Linked DNA regions of Homo sapiens: region 2 is linked to region 1. Evidence: promoter capture Hi-C in 16 types of primary human blood cells and fetal thymus (Javierre and others, 2016). All regions are on one chromosome and are shown on one strand. Each heading gives the region's core, a stretch centred on a gene start or on the middle of the fragment in contact. The rest is flanking DNA. Distances are from core to core; before and after follow the strand shown.

Evidence for each region. The method cuts DNA at HindIII sites, captures the fragments that hold promoters and counts their contacts. A CHiCAGO score of 5 or more calls a contact.
Region 2: the fragment with the promoter of MGST2 here is called in contact with the fragment with the promoter of TBC1D9 in region 1 in 5 of 17 cell types (M0 macrophages, M2 macrophages, monocytes and 2 more); the score reaches 21.8 in M0 macrophages.

What each region holds. Positions count from the first base shown.
Region 1 is chr4:140,754,823-140,760,174 of GRCh38, reverse strand. TBC1D9 (TBC1 domain family member 9) reads left to right here and starts at 3,790. Exons shown (of 21, transcript NM_015130.3): 1 at 3,790-4,259. The coding sequence starts at 4,130. RefSeq lists enhancers at 3,268-3,317, 2,808-3,449, 3,450-4,092 and a silencer at 3,748-4,437. The HindIII fragment of the contact is 6,603 bases long and covers 2,985-5,352 here.
Region 2 is chr4:139,662,576-139,667,789 of GRCh38, reverse strand. MGST2 (microsomal glutathione S-transferase 2) reads right to left here and starts at 1,971. Exons shown (of 5, transcript NM_002413.5): 1 at 1,713-1,971. The coding sequence starts at 1,770. RefSeq lists enhancers at 1,747-1,916, 1,213-2,412. The HindIII fragment of the contact is 3,780 bases long and covers 1-3,321 here.

The DNA of each region.
Region 1 (5,352 bases), core at 2,541-5,040:
GACAAAGACATCATCTACCTCTACCTTATCTAGGCATCTGTTGAATGCTTTTCCTCTTCAGGTGGTCTGAGACTATCCTAGGGCTTAAAACCAGTGAGAATAAATTGAAAGCTAAAAATAGTCATGTATTTCACAGAGGAACTAGTTAGATTAATTAGGTTCTCCTTATGTCATTTCTTGTCTAGGTATATTTGATTGTCTTTTTTTTTTTTTTCAAAGTCACATTTAATTGAGTAGGTAGCACTATGGGACTGGAAAGCCACCAAAACTCCTTATAGTTTCTCTAGTTTTTTGCAATGTCCTTTTACTACAGGTTATCACAAGTCATGATAATAATGGCATGATTTCCTGGAGAGAATGTGCTCTAAATCTTCCAAGAAACTAGAAAATGGCTAAGGATTTTAAAATGTTTCTTCTTTCCTCTTGGTGTCCAATCTTGTTCTCAAAGCAAATTTTTATAAGCTTGTTTTGGTTACATTTTAATCTTCACAAAAGCAGGGACTTTGTATGTTTTGTTCACTTTTTTTCACTCTGTCATCCAGGCTGGAGTGCAGTGGCGTGATCTCAGCTCCTTGCAACCTCCGTCTCCCGTGTTCTAGCAATTCTCCTGCCTCAGCCTCCAGAGTAGCTGAGACTACAGGTGCATGGTGCCACGTTTGGCTAATTTTTTGCATTTTAGTAGAGACGGGGTTTCACCTTGTTGTCCAGGCTGGTCTCGAACTCCTGAGCTCAGGCAATCCACCTGCCTCGGTCTCCGAAAGTGCTAGGATTACAGGCTTGAGCCACCACGCCTGGCCTTGTTCACTTTTTATTCCAAGGCCTAGAGTATAGTAGGCATTCAATAATTATATGTTGAATAAGTGAATGAATGAATGAATGAATGAATAAATTGTATAAGTAAATAGCACTTGGTACCAGTATATAAAAAAGGCCAAAGTAACTTACATTTTGGGGCTAGGGTATAGGTTTTGGTGTGAAACCACAACCTTAAGCAGCATGCCAAGGGCAAGCCAAAAGATTGTTGTAGGCCGGGCATGGTGGCTTCTGGCACTTTGGGAGGCCCCAAGGCGGGCGGATCACTTGAGGTCAGGAGTTCAAGACCAGCCTGGCCAACGTGGTGAAACCCCGTCTCTCCTAAAAATACAACAATTAGCTGGGCGTCGTGGCTCACACCTGTAGTCCCAGCTACTCAGGAGGCTGAGGTGGGAGAATCACTTGAACTGGGAGGTGAAGGTTACAGTGAGCTGAGATCGTGCCACTGCACTCCAGCCTAGGTGACAGAGCGAGACTTTGTCTCAAACAAAACAAAAACAAAAGATTGTTGTAGGGGAAAAGGTGTGATATCTTTCCTTCCCATAAGGGTCATAGCCAACACACCTATAACAAAAGACAGGCTAACAAGAGAAAAGCACAACACATTTGTTTAATCAAAGTTTTAGGTGACATGGGAACCTTCAGAAATGAAGACGGAAAAACCCAGGGAAACCTGTCTATTTTTTTTTAATAGAGATGGGGTCTCTCTGGTTTAATACAGATGGGGTCCTCCTGGCTCTGCCTACCAAAATGCTGGGGTTGCAGGCATGAGCCACCATGCCCAGCCTGTTTATTTTTTTGAGAGAGTCTCGCTCTGTCCATTTTTGTGCTTAGGTTCAATGAAGAGTGGGCAGCCATGTAGATGTGGTTGGACAAAAGGGTAAGATCCAATGGTAATAGACTGAGAACAGACCCAGTCTGTCTGTTCAGATTCTTCTTGGCCTCTCCGTATAGCTTTCCCTCCTCCTGGGTTTAGAGCAGGACTCCTTTGGAAAGGGGACCTACTATCCAACAAGGTAGGGTAGATAATTTCTTTATTTCTCTATTCTTTATGTCTGCTCTTACACAGAAGAGTGAGGAATGGTAATATTTCTAGGTTTTGTAGCTTCCTTTGGGAAGAGGGGTTTTAGTTTCTATGACCTGCCTTTAGTTTCCATGACTCACTTTGGGGGAGAAAGAGAGGTGGGAGACAGGAGGGCAGAAGGAGGTCAGAGAGAAACTGCTTCTGAGGCCTTTCAATCTCCTTTAGTTCAAAGTACTCAGCATGCCAAAGCACCATGCTTTGTGGTATCATTTTCCAAACCCCAACATGGTATTAAGGCACTTAGAGTTTTTAAAAATACCAATTATATCAAGTAAAAGAATACCTATGGAAACACTTCAAAAATATAAAAGTTACATGATATATTAATATAATTTTTGCATATGTATGACTTATAATCTTATTGTTTGCTTTTTATTTGCAGATTTTGTGACTGAAGGCACTGCACTGTGACCAAAAGTGCCAAATGAGTTTTTTGAGTCTGTGTTAAATACATGAGGTTTCCACTGATGCCTGGAAGAAGCAGATCAGTCTGTGTGGTAACATCAAGGGAAACTTCCATTCCTTGAGAGCCCAAGCGGTAGGAAGCGAACAGATGAAATGGCAGTCTCATTAGAATGGCTGGTGATTTGCTCATTCGACTAATTGAAGGAATTCAACAATTCAAGTCGGAGCTACAAAAGTCACAATTTTGAAGCCCACACAAGAAGGTTTCATTTGAATCTCTGCTCATTTGGAAAGGGAAAAGTCCCTAGGATTGCCCAGCATCCACAACAAAGCAGAGTCTGCTAAATTCCCATCATTTGGGAAGAGGAACTTTTTTTTTTTTTTTTTTTTTTTTTTTTTTGGCTGAACTATCCTCCAGATCTCCTGGGCGGGAGGAAAAAAAAATGGTCATCAGATATGTAGGCAGATGGGCTGTGATCACCACTGGAAGCTCGAAGTATTTGGGGAAACTGAAACTGTCTAGGGATAAAGCTGCCCTGGTTTGTGTGTTTCTGGTTTCACTGATTAAAAAAAAAATCCATCTACCAAGAGTGGATAAATTTTAAAATTCTGCCATGCCCAGTTTTCGAAGCCCCAAATGCGATATAGGAACAGCTGTGGTGTGAATTAGTTGGTCTAAGCTTTTGGGCCGCTTCCAACTTCTCTATTGCTCACGCCCTACAGGTCAAGGAAAGAAGTGATGTAATGCACTTAGCTAGGCCACTTTAATTACAATGGAATGGAGAGGGGGGAGGGGTCACAAGCGGTGACAAGTTTAGCGCATGACTTGCCCTGGGGATGCAGGAAACAAAAACATCGACGACCATTGGCTGCGTTGGCTTCCGACCCCGGGTCTCTAACCGAGCTCCAGGTCTGGAACCTTGAAACACTTTTCCTGGGAAAAGGGGTGGCGCTATCCCATAGAGCGTCAACCTTAAACACAAACAGCACACACGCACCCACGCAGGCTGGCGGCGTCCTCCCTGCTGGGATGGGCGTCGGGCCCAGTGCTTGGCACACGGTCCCCAGGAGCTTCCCCCGAAGGTTCCCCCGAAGCCAGCCACAGCTGCTCAGCTCGGCGCGCGGAGCCCGCGGTGGTACCGAGTCCGCACAAACCCGGACCCGCTCCAAGTGAGCCGCGTTGTCGTCATTCATTCGCAGTGTCCGGAGCGTCCTTCCAGCGGGGAGCTGGGCTTCCCTAGTGGCGCCTGCGGCCCCGACACGGCGCGTTAAGGCGCGGCGACTTCGGGAGCTCGAGCAGGTAGAGACGGGAGGGGCTCTGGAGCTCCAGTCGGCGCCGCGGGAGCAGCAGCGCCGGAGCCCAGCTTGGCCCTGACCGCGGGGCCGAATCCGCTCGGGTGGCCCTTAGCCCTGCCTGGCGCTGAGCCGGATCCCGGGACTGAGCTATACCACTTCCTCCTCCTCCCGCTCCCTTCCTCCTCCTCTTCCTCCTCCTCCCGCTCCTCCCGCCGCCGTGGGCCGGGAGCCGGGCTGCAGAGTGCCAGGCCGGGCGTCTGCGGCCGCGGGCTCTCGCGGGGCGGCGACGCCGCGGGGAGGATGCTGCTTGCCGCGCCCGCGTCCTCACCGTCCTCCCGGGCCGCCTGCTGGGGCTTTGTTGTGGCCCGGACGCCGCGGGCCACCCCCTGAAGTCGCCTGCCGCCGCCGCCGCCGCACCTAGCGGACGGGCGGGCGGGCGCGCGTGTGCCCAGGAGTGCGCGCCTGTCGCGGTGGTGGGTGCAGGACTGGACCCACGGGCCCATTGTGCGCCCGCCCGCGGCAGCCAGGACCATGTGGGTGAACCCGGAGGAGGTGTTGCTGGCCAACGCGCTGTGGATCACCGAGAGGGCCAACCCATACTTCATCCTGCAGCGGAGGAAGGGCCACGCCGGCGATGGAGGCGGCGGCGGCGGACTGGCGGGTAAGGACCGTGGCCGATCCCTGCAGGAGGGGAGCCGGGAGCGCTGCGGCGCCGCCCGCGGCCTGGGCTGCAGGCTCGGGAGACGCCGCCCGGTCCCCTGGGGCTGGGCGACCCGCCCTGCCTCGTTGTATGCGAGGCATCGAGAGTCGTGATGTTCAGGTTGGGCAGAGATGCTTCTTTTTTTGACTCTGTCAGGCTTGGGGCCCTCAGCGTACTGAGCGCTCTTTAAGTGGATATGTTGAGGAGAATGGGAAAGAGTGAGTCTGGGGCGGAGGGAATGTATTATCCCCTATATATTGAATGCATCATTCCCTTCCCCTCCCCCCCTTAAAAATATTGTTTTCCAAATGGAAAAGAGGGATGGAAGAAGGTTAATTTTTGCTCCACTTTCTTTACTGGCAACAGCAGGATCAGGTATAAAATGCTCTTTTGTTTCCAGGGAAGCGATAAGTAAGGAACTGATGTGGTCATTTCCTATATGAGTTATGACCGAAGAGAATGAATACGGAAACAGGAATTTTTTTGTTTCACCTAATTAGACATAAAGCAAAGCAAATTGTCTGGTTCTAGTTGTAAAAATAATTGGCTGTATAACTGCATTTTAACTATTTTTGCTCAATCACTTCTTCCCTAAACCCCCTCCCTTCAAGGTATTATTGTAATTGTTGCTGAAGCCATGTCATATCATTCAGGATAATAAGATCAGTCAGACCCATATCCAAAGTAGTGCCATATTAGAAATAATCTCGAACTCATACCATACTAGAGAAATTGGACCTTCTCCATCTCTGTGTTATTTAGAATGAACAGAACTGGAATACTTTTTACAGTGAAAAAGTTAGCAGAAGAAATAGTAGAGGTTTCACTAGAAAGGAGACTGCAAAAAAGAGATGAACTTTGACCCTCCTCAGAGTTGAGCTTATATCAACCTCATATATCACCTGGAGTTTGCACAATAGGTAAATTGTTGCTTTCAAATGCTGTGCTATGAAATAAAGATTCTTGATATATGTATTTACTTATGATTATATTTATAAACTAATTTTCTTAAGATTAAAATTCAGGTGTCATGTGGTACAATGTATACTGGTAT
Region 2 (5,214 bases), core at 722-3,221, 1.1 Mb after region 1:
CCCTCCCAGGTTCAAGCGATTCTCCTGCCTCAGCCTCCCTAGTAGCTGGGACTACAGGAGCGTGCCACCATGTCCAGCAAATTTGTGTATTTTAAGTAGAGACGGAGTTTCACCATGTTGGCCAGGATGGTCTCGATCTCTTGACCTCGTGATCCACCTGCCTTGGCCTCCCAAAGTACTCGGATTACAGGGGTGAGCCACCGTGCCCGGCCCTAACACCTTGTCATTAAACATTCCCTGTCCACCATTAATCATCATTCACCCAGTCTCCTCTCCTCTCTCCCCACCCCTACCCCCACTCCATCCAGCCCCCTAACATTCTGGCCCCAGTTCACACAGCCCCCTGCACAAGCAGCAAACAGGGAGGATGAGCACCTCTGTCAGCTTTGGGACATCTGTGGACCTGCAGGCCTAGGATAAAGGCGCATGCAGGTTTGGTAGCACCTGTGAGTCAGGATGCTACCAACAGTGAGCCTTAGACCTGCTAAATTAGGTTTAGCCTAAAGCTGCCTTCTGACATATTTTAAGTTCAGCCTAAAGGTTTCTCCGTACATCGTGAACTATATGCTTCCGTTTTCTGGGAGTCGCTTTCCTTTTTCTGTCCATAAATCTTCTTCTACCACGTGGCAGCCCCAGAGTCTCTCTGAACCTATTCCGGTTCCCCATGCCCAACTGTGAATCGTTCTTTGCTCAATTAAACTCAGTTAAATGTAATTTGTCTAGGGTTTTCCTTTTAACAGATCTAAGTGCTTCTTTAATTAGAAACAAATATCCTGCTCTTCTCCACAACAGATTGTGTGAATCAAACCACAAAACGTGAGTCTGAAGGTTCAAGATCTTCATACAATCTCAAAACAGACTGGCTAGGCAAGACATTGAGCATGCACGGAGGCCTGGACTGGATCCTCAGCTGTGAGGCCTTCCTGCTTCTGGCTGTTTGTGTAACCTGAGCAGTCTACGGCTTGGCCCTATTTCCTGGTACAGGCATACTTGGAAATATAAAGAAATATGCATGCTTGGTAAGAAGTCTTGCACTCTTGCACTCGGACCCCTTTCCCCAGCTGACATTGTAGGTAAGATAATATGAATTGAGCAAATGTGACTCCCATGGAGTAAAAGCCCTCTATTTAACCAGGCAGTCGAGATATTGAATAATCCTAGTGGGAAGCTGTTTTAAAATTTAGAGCTAATTACTTAATCTAAAGCTAATATTTCTGAAGGAAGTTTTTTTCAATCTGATAATCATACCACCATAGGCAGTTTATTTAAGAAAACACATTAATTAAAACATCAACGTTCAAGAAATCACAACCAGGTTTAGAAGCAGGCACGTTTCCTTTGGAACACTTGTAATTAATATTCACACCACTTCCTGCAGGTTAGCAGGCTACTAACGCTCGTTTGAACGGGCTGTGGGTCGTAATCACAGATGATGCAGAATCGCTGAGCTCTGAGGCCCCACAGCGTTCCAGTTGGGAGAACTAATCTCTGGAATGTTCTCAGTCTCTGCTTGCCCCTGGGAAGGAGGGTAGCAGGCGGCATGGGTGACCCTGAGGCGACTGTGCTCTGAGGACCCAGAGCTACCTGCAAGGGCAAGTAGGAAACAAAACACCGGACCCATCTCCCTCCCTCCCTCTCTCTCCCGCAAGCCTTGTCACACACACACACACACGCACACACGCGCACACACACGAACTTCCCATGCCTCTTACTTTGCTGACAGGCCGAGAGAATAGAGACAGCAGCCAGCAGGATCGAGTTCCCGGCCATCTTTCTCACGGAACTATTTGTAGAGCGCACGGGAAGATAAATGGCGCTTCTTGACTTTGAATGCTGACCTTCCTTATCGGGTAAACAAAGTTGGGGACCGGGTGGGGGGAAAAGGCTGATTCAAGCGGCTGAATGACCTTTGCTCTGGAACAGAAGTCAGGAAGGCAGGCAGGTCTGGGGCTGCCGGTCACAGATCTTTATGGGGCTGGGAGTTGCTTCCGGCGTTTGTTTTAAGCCTCTCCCACGGCCAGCGGGCAGGGCTGTAGCTCACTGTGGGACCAGCCCTCCAGCCGCAGTGCCAGTTACACTATCTTCTCTGCCAATGCACAGACTCTCTGGATCCCTTTCATCCCCACGCCCTTCCCTCCTAGGGCCTTGCTGAGACCTTTCTCACCTCCTGTGGAAAAAGTGAGAAGGAACTACTTACTTAATCCTGTTGACATTTTAAATGCTAATTTAAGCCAGTTCTAATGTATTCACGCTCTGAATGGCCGATTTAGGATTTGAACCCAGTCTAGCAGATTACAACTGTGCCCTATCCCCTGCACCAGGCTGCCTCTCACTGTCACCTAGAGACTCTGATAATAATCATACTTTTTTTTTTTAAGACAGGGTCTTGATCTGTCACCCAGGCTGGAGTGTGTGGTGGCACGATCATAGCTCACTGCAGCCTCCAACTCTTGGGCTTAAGTAATCCTCCTGCCTCAGCCTCCCAAGTAGCTAGAACTACAGCCACAAGTCACTGTGCCCAGCCATTTTTAAAAAAATAAACCGGCCGGGCGCGATGGCTCACACTTGTAATCCCAGCACTTTAAGAGGCCAAGGAGGGTGAATCACGAGGTCAGGAGATCAAGACTATCCTGGCTAACACAGTAAAACCCCTTCTCTACTAAAAATACAAAAAATCAGCTGGGCATGGTGGCACGAACCTGTAGTCCCAGCTACGCAGGAGGCTGAGGCAGGAGAATCTGCTCTTTAGAGATGCAGATTCTGGCCTGGAAGGATGGCTCATGCCTGTAATCCCAACAGTTTGGGAGGCTGAAATGGGCAGATGGTTTGAGCTCAGGAGTTCGAGACCAGCCTGGGTAACATGGCAAAACCCCATCTCTTAAAGAAATACAAAAATTAGCAGGGCATGGTGGCACGTGCCTGTAGTCCCAGCTACTTAGGGGGCTGAGGCAAGGGGATTGCTTGAACCCAGGAGCCTGAGACTGCAGTGAGCCAAGGTCGTTCCACTGCACTTCAGCCTGGGTGACAAAGTGAGACCCTGTCTCAAACAAATAATAAAAATAAAGATGCAGCTTCCCAAAAACCAGAGCTGGGGGCCTTTCCTCACCCCATCCTACAGCACCATTAGAGGGTATATCTTGGCTCAAGCTGCTATAACAAAGATACCATAGACTGGGTGGCTTACAATAGCAATTTATTCGTCACAGTCCTGAAGGCTGGGAAGTCCAAGATGACAGTGCTGGCCAATCAGTTCCTGGTGAGGGCCCTCTTCCTGGTTTGCAGAAGGACACCTTCATGTTGGAGACAGAGAAAGAGTAAGCTTCCTGGTCACTTCTTATAAGGGCACAGATCCCATTATGGGGGCCTATGCTCATAACCTCACCTGTAGCTAATTATCTGCCAAATGCCTGATAACATCACGTTGGGGGTTAGGGTCTCAACATATGAATTGCAGAGGGGACACAAACATTTAGTCCCTAGCAGGGAGCTCCCAGTGTCTTCTGGGGAGGGCAGTTGCCTCAGCCTCACACAGACCCTACAATTTAATAACACAACCTTGGGCCTCTCTGAGCCTCCATTTAATAAGATAGGGCTAATAAGAGCTGAAGAGAAGTTTAAATGACATAATCCTATTCTAAGGATTGAATTAGTTAATACTTATAGAGCACTTAAAACAGCACCTGGCATATACAAATGTGTTCTGTGTGTCTGCAAAATAAACACATAAAGTATCTAGACAAGTACTTAGCATATAATGTACCTAATGTTAAAAAATACTTTCAGAGGCAAAAATCATGCCTTTCATACAACATAAAATGAAAACATATCAAAATTTTTATGTAACTCATTCATGAGGGAACCAGTAAGATGTTATAACCAGTTCAAAGTAGAATTCATGGAACTACACATATACAGGAAAGAAGGAATAACAAAATTAATTTATAAATAGTTGCAAGCCAGGTCTGCTCAAAGTTTCTGTTGGTCTTCAGGCTTCCTTGGCTGTTTGCTCTTGAAATCATTGACAACTAAGATTAGATAAGAAAGTAGAGCCAAGAAGCTGGGGCAGCACCAAAACATTCTTGTATACTCAGTTTAATAGTTTTGGGCTTCAGTACATGGCAGAGATTCTAAACTGCAAACTAGCTGCCCTGAACCCATATCACCATCTACTATAATAACCTCCCAAATGACAGATCTCGAAGGAGAGGTCTACATTAGGCCTGGGGACAGGCAGAGGCTCTCAAAGTCAGAGAACGGCTCGGGAAGAGAGGAACAACAGCAGGAGGAGCTGAGCAGAGAATTGTGGCCCTGGCTGATGACTGTAACTTTTGGGTGTTGGTAACTCTTATTTTGAGAAACTCTTGGGTACACCTGTACTAGTCAACTGGTTTAAAATCTACAACTTCCGGCCGGGCGTGGTGGCTCACGCCTGTAATCCCACACTTTGGGAGGCCGAGGTGGGCGAATCACCCGAGGTTGGGAGTTCCAGACCATCCTGGCTAACACGGTGAAACCCCGTCTCTACTAAAAATACAAAAAAATTAGCCGGGCGTGTTGGCGGGCGCCTGTAGTCCCAGCTACTCGGGAGGCTGAGGCAGGAGAATGGCGTGAACCTCGAAAGCGGAGCTTGCAGTGAGCTGAGATCGTGCCACTGCACTCCAGCCTGGGTGACAGAGCGAGACTTCGTCTCAAAAAAAAAAAAAAAATGAAACTTCCCAGCTTCTGGACAAATCCTGAGGTTCCCTACTGACTTCTCCCAGCCAATCTTAAGTCAGTCCCCCAAATCCAGATTCTAAGAGATGGTTGACACAAAGTAAAAAAATAAAAAATCAATTAATCAATAAAATCTCAAGTGCTTCAAAACCCCACGTGTCTATTTAAAAAGATCTTCATTGTCGGTATATGTAGTTATTGCCTCTAGGAAAGTATAAAAGAATAGAGCATTGTATAATGAAATGTTTATCACCTTCTGCAGTGATAAAATTTCCAGGTGACCCACAGCTGAAATACTGCCATAGCATTAACAAAAACTCACAAAAATTAGAGTTTCTCTGTACGTTTTCCCTGGATTGGTTGAAGAGGAATGGCATTTTCCCTGAATGTTGTTCCCATAGATCCTTCTAGTATGTTCCATTTATTACATTTTTCTATGAAAAGGAAAATAAGAGGACAAACAGCATACTGGTAATTGCTATGGTCTGAATGTTTGTCCCC